3 separate regions of the Homo sapiens genome follow, and regions 1 and 3 are each linked to region 2. Evidence: promoter capture Hi-C in 16 types of primary human blood cells and fetal thymus (Javierre and others, 2016). All regions are on one chromosome and are shown on one strand. Each heading gives the region's core, a stretch centred on a gene start or on the middle of the fragment in contact. The rest is flanking DNA. Distances are from core to core; before and after follow the strand shown.

The links. The method cuts DNA at HindIII sites, captures the fragments that hold promoters and counts their contacts. A CHiCAGO score of 5 or more calls a contact.
Region 1: a contact is called between a fragment that was not itself captured here and the fragment with the promoter of LTBP3 in region 2, in 1 of 17 cell types (monocytes). The highest score is 6.5, in monocytes.
Region 3: a contact is called between a fragment that was not itself captured here and the fragment with the promoter of LTBP3 in region 2, in 5 of 17 cell types (endothelial precursors, monocytes, neutrophils and 2 more). The highest score is 10.4, in endothelial precursors.

Annotation. Positions count from the first base shown.
Region 1 is chr11:65,337,300-65,341,422 of GRCh38, forward strand. It overlaps DPF2 (double PHD fingers 2), which reads left to right. Exons shown (of 11, transcript NM_006268.5): 2 at 3,086-3,246; 3 at 3,667-3,774; 4 at 4,100-4,123. Among named protein-coding and RNA genes, the nearest start is that of DPF2, 5.5 kb to the left of the region's middle. RefSeq lists an enhancer at 1-143. The HindIII fragment of the contact is 1,229 bases long and covers 2,260-3,488 here.
Region 2 is chr11:65,556,136-65,560,431 of GRCh38, forward strand. LTBP3 (latent transforming growth factor beta binding protein 3) reads right to left here and starts at 2,224. Exons shown (of 28, transcript NM_001130144.3): 1 at 1,494-2,224. The coding sequence starts at 1,824. RefSeq lists silencers at 2,053-2,292, 2,343-2,502. The HindIII fragment of the contact is 7,741 bases long and covers 1,281-4,296 here.
Region 3 is chr11:65,355,745-65,359,829 of GRCh38, forward strand. TIGD3 (tigger transposable element derived 3) reads left to right here. Exons shown (of 2, transcript NM_145719.3): 2 at 49-1,869. The coding sequence starts at 65. The coding sequence ends at 1,480. Among named protein-coding and RNA genes, the nearest start is that of TIGD3, 3.0 kb to the left of the region's middle. The HindIII fragment of the contact is 4,312 bases long and covers 87-4,085 here.

The DNA of each region.
Region 1 (4,123 bases), core at 1,624-4,123, 220 kb before region 2:
ATTAGCTGGGCGTGGTGGCGCATGCCACTCGGGAGCCTGAGGCAAGAGAATCGTTGGAACCCGGGAGGCAGAAGCTGCAGTAGGCAGAAGCTGCAGTGAGCCGAGATTGCACCACTGCATTCTAACCTGGGCGGCAAAGCAAGACTCTATCTCAAAAAAAAAAAAAAAAAAAAAAATATATATATATATATATATATATATATATAGAGAGAGAGAGAGAGAGAGAGAGAGAGAGAGAGAGAGAGAGAACAATGTTAATGTTAACTTGACATTTCTTGGTATCGGAGCCTTAAGTTTTTGTTATTGCTTTTTTTTGTTTTAAGAGACAGAGCCTCCCTCTGTCCCCCAGGCTGAAGTGCAGTGGTATAACCTTGGTTTACTGCACCCTCAACTTCCTAGGCTCAAATGATTCCCCTACCTCATCCGCCCCAGGGGCTACGTGGAACCACAGGCATGCATCACTAAGCCTAGCTGATGGTTTTTTTGTTTGTTTGTTTTGTTTTTTTTAATTTTATTTTTTTTGAGACAGAGTTTCGCTCTTGTTGCCCAGGCTGGAGTGCAATGGCGCAATCTCGGCTCACCGCAACCTCCGCCTCCCAGGTTCAAGCAATTCTTCTGCCTCAGCCTCCCCCGTAGCTGGGATTATGGTCATGTACCACCACGCCCGGCTAATTTTGTATTTTTAGTAGAGACAGGGTTTCTCCATGTTGAGGCTGGTCTCGAACTCCTGACCTCAGGTGATCCGTCCACCTCAGTCTCCCAAAGTGCTGGGATTACAGGCGTGAGCCACTGCGCCAGGCCTTTTTTATTTTTATTTTTTAACGTTTTGTAGAGATGGGATCTCACTATGTTGCCCAAGCTGGTCTCTAACTCTTGGTCTCAAGAGATCCACCAGCCTTGGCCTCCCAAAGTGCTGGGATTATAAGCATGAGCTACTGTGCCCGGCCTCCCTTAAGTTCTTAAGAGCTCACTGTCATGCTGTCTTGTTCTCTCTTCATGAGATTCTCCCCCCACACTTCAGTGTTTCCTTCCCAGCCCTTTTACCCCCAAGACTGTTTGCCTGCCTTATGTAGCTCACAAGAGCCCTGACAGAACATCTCTCATTCATTCCCCGCAAAACTGTTTCCAGCCTCCTTGCTCTGACTTTGCAGCACTCGCCAGCCTGGCCCTGCCTTCCATTTGACTTCCAGTGTCCGTATCAATTCCCATCAGCAGAAACAAAGGAGCTGCCGCACTCAACCTTGTTTATCCAATTTTATTCTGTGTGGTGAAGACGTGGCTGCCTCCTAAAGGCGAGCCCACAGAGGCAAGGCTGCCTTCTCCATTCTGCTCTCCAACGTGAGATTCGTGCCTACCTCAGATTACAGTCATTACAGCTCATTGAATCACGCCAGGCTATATTTGTGGCATTGCCGTCTCTGTGTGTCGTATGTGTCTTTTTTACTTGCTGGGCACATGCTAAGTTATGCAGTGGTCTATTGTGGCTGCTCACTGAAGGACCCTGTCACATTCTAGAGCAGGGTTTGTTGGTGTAGCCCGAGTTACGGACAGAAACCACAGAGACTTAATCTGTTTGCTGTCTCATCCCCAGGCTGTTTCTTGTAAAATCCTGATATGTCAAAGCTCATTTGGTCCAACCTCCTCAATCTATAGAAGAGTAACCAAGGTCCACCTGGGCTGACTAAGTGTCCATGTTCGTGTGACTTGCAGGCAAGCCAGGTCTTTTTACTCTCAAGTCAAGTCTGACTGTATCTCAGACATCGTCATGAGTATTAGGGATACTATGAGAAATAAATCAATTCTGCCCTTGGTTTAAGATTGATTGACGCCAGGTACTGTGACACATGCCTCTATTCCCAGATACTTGGGAGGCTAAGGCAGGAGGATCACTTGAGCCAGGAGTTTGTGTCCAGCTTGGGCAACATAGTGAGACCTTGTCTCTTAAAAAAAAAAAAAAACAAGATTGATTGAATATAAGATCGAGTTTGTTAACCTCCATTACCAAAGTCCTTGTTAAACCCTGCAAGATGAGAACAAGATAGGTTCTATATACACGCTTCTTAGAACCAGATAACTCCTGGCACTGTGCAGTTTTCCAGTTTTCCACTTAAAGATTTACCCTTGATTCAGATTTCAAATTGAGTCTTTTGAGACCAAGAAGATTTTTTCCTATATAATTTTATTTTGTGAGAATGGAGAAGAACCCTAAGATGGGCCTTAGAGCAAACAAGTTTCTTATGAGTGATGGTGCTCAATAAAAGCTTCAAGGAACTTCAGGTACTTGTAGACATCTTCCATAAATGTAAAATTAATTAGTTGATTAAAAACCTAGTTCAAAATTCAAAAGATATAAAAAGGCATATGGAAGGAAGTGGCCTAGTCACCCACTTTTTCTCCCCGCTGACCTGCAGTTTCTTTTCCATTTTGTTACATAAATGATAGTTTTATTTGACGCTTCTCAGCAGTGTACCTTGCTTTGCTTTTTGTCCCTAGTTAACTTGAAATTGTTTAATATCAGTATGTGAAGAGCTTCCTTCTTATGGCTAAGTAGAATTTCATTGTATGGATTTACCATAGTTTGCTAAATACATTTTAATAAGTCCCCTAGACTTTGAACTCTTTCCCTCTGGAGCAGACCTTGGGGCAAGGATGTGGGAGCATGTAGTTTATTTGGGAGGTGATTCTAGGAAAGAGGGAATAAGGAGGAACTTAGGAGGGACTATCATCTGCTTCTTAGCCTCATAAGGGTTAAGAGAAATAGCATCTTAACTAGCACAGGGGTGGGCTTGTGAGACACGTGGAGTGAACATTCTTTCACCTCTTTGGGGGTTAAACTTAAGTCTGATTAGACATATGATGAAATCATGTGTTCCTGATGGTAATTTATTTGTAAAGTAATTCCTCATGATGGCCTAGAAAAGGGGCTTCGTGTCCCATGAGGCAGAAGTGGAGGCAAATAGAACGGAAGAGACAGCCACCCAGTCCCTTGAGCCTTCTAGAGAAGCAGATGGCAGGGGAGAGGAATAGCTCAGCACCCTATGCCCCCCGCTCCAACATACACGCCTGATTTCTATCTTCCCTGCAGCCTTGGGGAGCAGTACTACAAAGATGCCATGGAGCAGTGCCACAATTACAATGCTCGCCTCTGTGCTGAGCGCAGCGTGCGCCTGCCTTTCTTGGACTCACAGACCGGAGTAGCCCAGAGCAATTGTTACATCTGGATGGAAAAGCGACACCGGGGTCCAGGTGAGGGTCCAGACTTGGGAGAAGGGGACTCAGGAGCATAAGGAGGAAGAAGCCTCCTCATCTTAGGTGATGAGACAGTTGATAGGGTTTTCCCTACTGCCTTCCACCTATGGATGAATATGGTCTTCCTGTGATTAGAAACCCAGGGAGGATGAAGCAGATGTTTGATACCAGCATCTTTGTTTTCTGCCCTGCTGAGGCCATTGTGTGTCTGGAGAACTATGTGTTAGCCAAGGCCCTGAAGCTTATATATCTATTTTTCTTTTCCACAGACTATTCCACCTAACCCCCTAGGCCCTCACTGTCAGAATTTCTCCCTTGCTCTAGAACTCAAAGGGGGGCCTACTTAATTAGAAAGTGTTTGGTATTACTTTCTAATACTGGGTTAGGGCCTGACTTCTATCTTTCTTCCTGCCACAGGATTGGCCTCCGGACAGCTGTACTCCTACCCTGCCCGGCGCTGGCGGAAAAAGCGGCGAGCCCATCCCCCTGAGGATCCACGACTTTCCTTCCCATCTATTAAGCCAGGTAAGGCACATACTTCCTGAGCAGAGGCGTGGCCTGCTGCATGGTGAGAGCCTGCTAATCACTGTGATATACCAGGCCCAGTACTAGATCCCAAATATACTCAAATGAATATGATGTGATTCTTTCCTTTAAGGACCTCAGTCTAGAAGGGGAGACAGGTAAACAGATAAGTTATGGTGCCAAGTGAACTAGGGTGTCTTAATTCCTGGGCGTGCAGAGAACAAAAGATAGTGACAGACCTTTGGTAAGCCCCAGCATTATGTGGACTCAGAGCAGTCTGCTTTCAGCCCTTTTGAGCCTTGCTTTATCCTGACCTTGCTTGCAGACACAGACCAGACCCTGAAGAAGG
Region 2 (4,296 bases), core at 974-3,473:
AGCCTGGGAGATGGACACACGTACACTCACACCCACAGTCCTCTTGTCACACACACACAGAGACTCATCCTGACACCAACACAGGTTCACATAAACATTCCCATACATTTGGCCGGGCGCAGTGGCTCACACCTGTAATCCCAGCACTTTGGGAGGCCGAGGCAGGTAGATCACTCGAGATCAGGAGTTTGAGACCAGGCTGACCAACATGGTGAAACTCCATCTCTACTAAATACAAAAAAATTGGCCAGGCGTGGTGGCGCATGCCTGTAATCCCAGCTACTTGGGAGGCTGAGGCAGGAGAATCACTTGAACCCAGAAGGGGGAGGTTGCAGTGAGCTGAGATTGCGCCATTGCACTCCAGCCTGGGTAACAAGAGCAAAACTCCATCTCAAAAACACAAAAACAAAAACATTCCCACATACTCTCTAACAGCGACTAGAGACACACACCCAAGACAACACAAAGACGGGTACTTCACAGTGTGCCACGCCATGCCCATGGCATGACCCCAGACACAGGGGCAATATGCGCACAGACACACGCACGCACACCCCATCTCATGACAAATTTGAGCCACATGAGTGGGGTTCCTTAGCTCTGTGAGTGGGAGAGTGAATATAGGAATGTGTAAGAGGGGCTGTTTTGCTGGTGCCATCCTGGGCCTGGCCTAATTACCCTGTCCAGGAGGGTAATTACTGCTGGGACACCTCCCCGAGCCTGGCCCACGGGGCCTAGCAGGAGGATGACTGAGCCCCAGGCCTGGCCCTTTAAAGAGAGATGCTGGGGAGGGGGTGGACTCCAAGCTGAACTGGGGAGGGTGTAGGGGCTTGGGGGAGGATGAGGGGGGCCCTGAGGGCCTCTGAGGCAGGATGTTAGGAGCTTATGGGGAGGCATTGGAAAAGGAGAGGCTGAGAACCCCGAACTAGTCCCTACCTTCAGGCCTGCACCCTACTTTTAGGCCTCAACACCCTCCCTACTCAGACCTTGCCAGTAGCCGGCTCCCATCCCCAGCCCTGACCTTAGCTCCTCCTCCCAGGGAATGCAGGTGTCTACTCTGGCAGGCCCTACTTTAGACATTTTGTAAAGACTTTTCTTGTTTCTTCCAGCAAGTCTGCTTCTTGCGGGAATATTTAGCCCTTCTCTGAGGCTTCCTGTCCCCGGCTCACATTCCTCAAAAACCCTGTGTGCTCCTGCTCAGAACTCAGCACCTTCTGGGAAGCCAGTGTCATCCAGGACCTCTGCATTTCCCCACCCCTTAGGCCCCAACCCTAACGCAAAGCTTCAAAGTCCAGGCCTCCATGCAGCCCTCCAACTCTGGCCCCCAGAGTTCCAGCCTCCCAAGTTCCCTGAGGCCCCTGGTCCCCCAGGCCCTCGGATCTCTGCCCTTTATACCCTCAGCCCCCAGTCTCTAAGGCCAAGACCCCACTAGCTCTCCCACCGGGCCTGGTGCCTGTCCTTCCCCTGCCCCCAGCCGTGCCCCCGGCCCTCACCCACGCGGAAGCCGGAGCCCGTGAGCGTGTCTGTGCTGTGGCCGTTCTCTCCGATGAGCGTCATGTTGGAGCCCTGCTGACAACTGTCCCGACACTGGCCCTTGAGACAGGTCCGCTTGCAGATCACCGGCGCAAAGACCACCTTGAAGCGCTCGCGGGCCAGCGCCCCGCCCCCGCCTGCGCCCCGCTCGCCGGCCGGCCCCCCCTCGACCCTGCCGCCCAGGCCCAGCAGCAGCAGCAGCAGCAGCAGCAGCAGCGCCAGCAGCCCCGCCGCCCCCGCCCCGCGCATCTCAGGGGCCAGGCCGCCAGCAGCCCCTCGGGGCCCGGGCATCCGGGGCCGCAGGACCCGGGGGAGGGGGGGCGCGCCCGGGCGGGGCGAGGGGCCCGCGCCCGAAGGGAGTAGAGGGCCGGGAGCCCCGGGAGAGGGTAGGGGGCAGCGAGGGAGGGCAGCGGGGGAAGCGGGCGGGAGGGGACCGCGGGGGCCCGGCGGGAGGCGCGGAGATGCAGACTGGACAGCGGGGAGCGCAGAAACTTCCCAGCCCCAGGACGAAGCCCAGACCAGGCCCCGAACTCAGGCAGGAGCGAGGAGGCCGGAGCAAGTTGAGGCGGAGAGGAGGAGCGAGGGAGAGGAAGGCCGGGCGGCCGGCCCGCTCCGCGCCTCCCCCTGGCCGGGCTCCTCTCCCGCGGCCGCGGGGAGGCAGGGAGCGCGCGGGGAGGGCTCAGGGAGAAGTGAGCAGTTGTTTTCCCTGGCTGGAGCGCGGCGCGGCGGCGGCGAGGGGGGCTGGGACGCTGGCCCCGGGCCAGGGACACAGTTTTTTTTTTTTTGTTGTTTAAAGCGTCGCCTCTGCCGCCTGGAGAAGCGAGGGTGTGCAGGCTGGCGGAGGCTGGGGGGTGGCGCGGGGACAGTCCCCACCCCAGATGCCCGCCCCCGCCGGAACCCGCGGCCGCGCTGGGCCCTTTCCAGAGGGCCCTCACCTGGGACCGTCTGGCCGGCCGCGGATTCCTCCGGGCGGGGCGGGGCGGGGAGGCCTGCGTAGAGCGAGATACCGAGGCTGAGGGAGAGAGGTGGCCCTGCCGGGTCACACTGACGATGGAGGCCGGGTGGAGCCGGAGCCCAGGCCTTCCAGCTCTTTCCCAGCCTCCCTTGCAAACGTGGGGGTCTCAGGGCCCCAAAGTAACTTCTCGTTAGTGCTGGTCCAATCCCCTCTGAGGAAAGGGCTAAAGGGTGGGGACAGCCTTTGGCCAGGGCTCACGGAGGTCCCAGGAGGAAGTCTGTGGGGTCCAGAAGAGGAGCAGAAAGAACAAAGCTAGAACCCAGCTTCCCTGCCAGCCCCCTCGGAATGGCTTCCTGGTGCCCACCCTGCCACCTCCCCCCTTTCCTTTCGTCTGGCCGTGCTGGCGGGGCTGGCTCTGGGCCTCAGACACTCTGGAATCGCCAAGGTCTGAGCTCAGGGCCTGGCCCCCTTCCCAGGCTAACAGCCGGGAGGACGGGGGCGCTGTCCGAGGGCCCAGGGGCTGGAGAGGGGCACAGCAGAGCCCCAGGGCAGGGGCTGGCAGCGGCTGGGGGTGGGGGTCTTCAGGTTGGCCATGGCTGGAGAGGAGCATAGTTCCAGACCAGGCTTGTCCGCTGGTCTGGAAGGAAAGGCTGCAACGTGCGGGGGCCCAGGCCTTACTGTGGGGCCTGCCAGGAGACCCCAGGGTTCCGTCTCTGACTCACAGAACTCAGCAGGAGGTGGGGACGGCTAGGGCACATCCAGGAAAAGCGCTGCCAAGTCAGGGCGGCACCAGACCCTCTCCCGGACAGCACCCGGGGCAGCAGTCTAATTGGGGAGAGGAGGTTCAGGGACTCACTTTCAGGCACACCTGTCCAAGGAACTCTGTTTTTACTTTGAGCGTAAGTTGATGTGGGTAGCTTTAGGGGGACGCTTAGTAAGTCCCCCTTACTAAGCGGTGCAGGGCTGGGAGGGACAATCACATGTCCCCAGGGATCCCTGCTGCCGGAATCCAGGATGGGGTGTGAGGGGCAAGCCCCTGCTTCTTGGGGCCCTGGTCCACACGGAGGCAGGGAATAATGCTAGGTGCCGACCACCTGCCAGGCACAGGGCTGAGCATTGTATACTCATTTTTTCCTAACACTCATCTGAACCTGTCCTGACTCTGCCTAGAGCTGGCTGTGGCTCACCATGGAGCACAGCACAGTCAAACAGTCCAGGGTTGGATTCTTACTGTCTCTAAGCCCCAGTTTCCTTGCTTGTGAGATGGGTATCTATTCACTCAACATCTATGTTCAACTACTGGTAATAAAAAACAAAAAATTAAAAAATAAATGTAAAAAATTCACTCAACAAACTGAGACTCCACCACATCCTAAGCTCTTGGCCACAAATAGAACCAGTCCTGCCTTCCTGGAGCTGCTGTACTAGGAGAGCTGGATATGTGCCAGATCAATTCACACAGAACTGTGGCTACAACAGAGGCTGGTACCGTGACAGAGAAGGGCAGGGAAGCAGGACAGGAGAGGGCTGGGACCTGGGAGACAAAGAGAGTCTTCCATCGGAAGCTGGAAGATGAGTAGGAGTGAGTCACACCTGTGGGCATCTGACCTCAGGGGAGGCTGCAGGGGGAGGCTATCCAGAGAACTGAGGGAAGGCCAGTGGAACAACAGGGTGTGGTGGAGAGGGAGAGCCGAAGGTGTAGTGGTGGTGGGAGGGGCCGGCCATGGTGAGGAATTTGCTTTTATTCTCATTGCAGTGGGACTGTGTCAGGGCAAGAGCGGGCACTCTGCCTTCATCCCAGGAGAGAG
Region 3 (4,085 bases), core at 993-3,492, 200 kb before region 2:
TTCCGGCCTCAGATTACTCTACCCGCTCAATCTTTCCTCCCCGCACAGGTGCCCCGGAGAGGCCATGGAGCTGAGCAGCAAGAAGAAGCTTCACGCCCTGTCCCTGGCCGAGAAGATCCAGGTGCTGGAACTCCTGGATGAGTCCAAGATGTCCCAGTCGGAGGTGGCCCGGCGCTTCCAGGTTTCCCAGCCCCAGATCTCGCGCATCTGCAAGAATAAGGAGAAGCTGCTGGCGGACTGGTGCAGCGGCACAGCCAACCGAGAGCGCAAGCGCAAGCGGGAGTCCAAGTACAGCGGGATCGACGAGGCTCTGCTCTGCTGGTACCACATTGCCCGGGCCAAGGCCTGGGACGTGACGGGGCCCATGCTGCTCCACAAAGCCAAGGAGCTGGCCGATATCATGGGCCAGGACTTCGTGCCCAGCATCGGCTGGCTGGTCCGCTGGAAACGCCGAAACAACGTCGGCTTTGGGGCCCGCCATGTTCTTGCGCCTTCATTCCCCCCTGAGCCACCTCCCCCGGGGCTCACATCCCAGGCTCAGCTGCCTCTTTCCCTAAAAGACTTCTCTCCAGAGGACGTGTTTGGCTGTGCTGAATTGCCCTTGCTGTATCGGGCAGTGCCCGGCAGCTTTGGTGCATGTGATCAAGTACAGGTGCTGCTGTGTGCCAACAGCAGGGGCACCGAGAAGCGGCGGGTACTGCTGGGTGGGCTCCAGGCTGCCCCGAGATGCTTCTTTGGGATCCGCAGTGAGGCTCTGCCTGCCTCCTACCACCCGGACCTGGGCATCCCCTGGTTAGAGTGGTTGGCACAGTTTGACCGGGACATGGGACAGCAGGGCCGACAGGTGGCTTTGCTGCTGGCTGCCCGAGTGGTGGAGGAGCTGGCAGGCCTGCCTGGGCTCTACCACGTGAAGCTCTTGCCTCTGGCCGCCTCTAGCACCACGCCTCCCCTGCCCAGCTCAGTGGTCCGGGCCTTTAAGGCCCATTACCGACACCGGCTGTTGGGCAAACTGGCTGCCATCCAAAGCGAGAGGGATGGCACCTCGCTGGCCGAGGCCGGGGCAGGCATCACCGTGCTGGACGCCCTGCACGTGGCGTCTGCCGCCTGGGCCAAGGTGCCTCCTCAGCTCATTTTCAGCAGCTTCATTCAAGAAGGGCTGGCTCCCGGCAAAACGCCCCCGTCCTCGCACAAAACCTCTGAGATGCCACCAGTCCCCGGCGGGCTGAGCCTGGAGGAGTTTTCCCGCTTTGTGGACCTGGAGGGTGAGGAGCCAAGGTCTGGAGTATGTAAGGAGGAGATAGGCACTGAAGACGAGAAGGGGGACAGAGAGGGTGCCTTTGAGCCCCTGCCCACCAAAGCTGATGCCCTCCGGGCCCTGGGCACCTTGAGGAGGTGGTTTGAATGCAACAGCACTTCTCCTGAGCTATTCGAAAAATTCTACGACTGTGAGGAGGAGGTGGAGCGGCTTTGCTGCCTATGAAGGCGCCTTCACTGCTTGCCAGAGCCCCTTCCTCTCTTGTTTCCCATGGAAACGGCCTCTTCAGAAGGCAGATCGGGCTGTCTCTTTCCTGTGGAAATAGAACTGTCGTAAAGGTGTAGAAGGGAGAGAAGTTGGGACACCAAGTCTGAGCTTGGAGTGGCAGTCGTCCAAACCCCAGGAAGAGAGCTCTAAAGATGGGGCTTCGGGGGTAGGAATCCAGGATGCTTAGTTTCTAGACCCTGCTTGAAAGTTCTAGAGCCTTTGAAAGGGAGTTAGTCTAGAGGCAGCCACTTAGAAAGGTGGAATTTGGGCTTTTTGGACAGACTGCTTCCTTGAACTTTGTGTTAAAAACAGTTCTGCTTCTGAAAATAAAGTTTTTAATCAGAAAAGAGGCCAGGGTGTTATTTTCATGGGAGAAGGGTAAACATTTTCCATTCAGATTTGGAAAATTAATTGCTGATGGTCACTGCGGTGCAGCTGTCTGTCCATGACCAGTAGGGATCCTCCTTTTCCAGATATTCAGCAGCAAGGACTCTCAGGGTGTGGGCACTGCTTGTGGGCTACCCTCCTGAGAGGGAAGCTCCAGGACAGACAGATCCCAGCTACTGCCCCAGATAAGCTGCAGCTCCAATAGTTTCGCTCTCAGATTGTGTGTGTTTGGGGTTGGGCAGGCTACGGACATGTCAGGGAAACAGAAAGGAGCCGGAATTGGAATGGAATAGTCATTCATTCTTTCTTTTTTTTTTTTCATTTGCTTATTTCACAACATCACTTCAGCAAGACCTCCTATGTGAACAAGGTTGCAAAGATGATGTCTCTTCTGGACAGAACCTTGCAGCCAATGACAGTGGAGTGTGATTAAGGCTGTGATAACGGCTGTGCAAAGTGCCTGGCCCCATAGAGCTAGGGAGACTCCAGGGGGAGGTGAGCTTTGAGCTGCAGTTTGAAGGGCGTCCCAGGCCAAGGGACAGCGTGTGCAGAGTCTGATTGGAGTGAAGGAGCACAGTGTGCTGGGGGCGGGGGCAGGCAGTTCTGCCAGAGCATAGCATACTTGCGGAGGTAGGGGCAGAGTACAAGGAGAGACCTGGAGAGTAGGAAGGGCCTTTAGCCAACCAGGCTTAGGGGTAGGACACCATCAGAGGGTTTTAGGTAGGCAGGAACAAGTCATTCTTGGGGTTCTAGAATAACGGAGTCTGTGTAGGGTGTGTCAAAGATGTGAAACCTAGAGGCAGAGAGCCTCTGACTGATCCAGGTGAGAGAAGGTGAAGCGTGAGCCAGATCCTGGGAGTAGGATGTAAAGAAAATGGTTTACCAGCAGGGCGCGGTGGCTCACGCCTGTAATCCCAGCACTTTGGGAGGCCGAGGTGGGTGGATGACCTGAGGTCAAGAGTTTATAAGACCTGCCTGGCCAACATGGTGAAACCCCATTTCTACTAAAAATATAAAAACTAGCCGGGCGTGGTGGCACATGCCTGTAATTCCAGCTTCTCAGGAGGCTGAGGCAGGAGAATCGCTTGAACCCGGGAGGTGGAGGTTGCAGTGAGCCAGGATGGTGCCACTGCACTCCAGCTTGGGCAACAAGAGTGAAACTCACTCAAAAAAAAAAAAAAAAGAAAAGAAAAGAAAATGGTTTTACCTGGAAAGGATATGGGCTTTGGACGCAGATAGACTCTAGCTGGTAAAAATACAAGCTGCAGGCCGGGCACAGTGGCTCATGCCTGTAATCCCAGCACTTTGGGAGGCCGAGGCTGGTGGATCACTTTAGGTCAGGAGTTCAAGAGCAGCCTGGCCAACATGATGAAACTCTGTCTCTACTAAAAATACAAAAATTAACCAGGCGTGGTGGCACACACCTGTAATCCCAGCTACTTGGAAGACTGAGGCAGTAGAATCGCTTGAACCCACGAGGCGGAGGTTGCAGTGAGCGGAGATCGCACCACTGCACTCCAGCCTGGGTGACAGAATGAGACTCCGTCTCAAAAATAAAAAAATAAAATAAAAATACTGTCTGGGCACGGTGGCTCACGCCTGTAATCCCAGCATTTTGAGAGGCCGAGGCGGGTGGATCACCTGAGGTCAGGAGTTCAAGACCAGCCTGGCCAACATAGTGAAACCCCGTCTCTATCAAAAATACAAAAACTAGCCAGGTGTGGTGGCGAGCGCCTGTAGTCCCAGCTACTCAGGAGGCTAAGGCAGGAGAATCGCTTGAACTGGGAGGTGGAGGTTGCACTGAGCCAAGATAGCGCCACTGCACTCCAGCCTGGGCGACAGAGCGAGACTCCCTCTTGAAAAAGGAATAAATAAAATAAAAATACGGGCTCCAGGCCAAAATCCTAAGGGTGACCTTTCAGGCTTCACCATTGGCAGTCACAAGACTTTTGCCTGGCAGTCCTCATGGAGGGAAGCTGCTCTCTCACCCCAGCTTGGTGCATCGCCTGTGCATTGCAGGTTTCCGGAGAGAGTTGCAGTCAAGGACTCCAGGCCCCCAGACTGCCCTGTTCCTAAGCTCACCTGCATTCCTAGCTGGGCACCTCCATTTGGAGACCTGGGCTGAGGCAGTTTCCAACAGCCTTTACCAAGACCTCCTTACTGGGAGCAATGACTG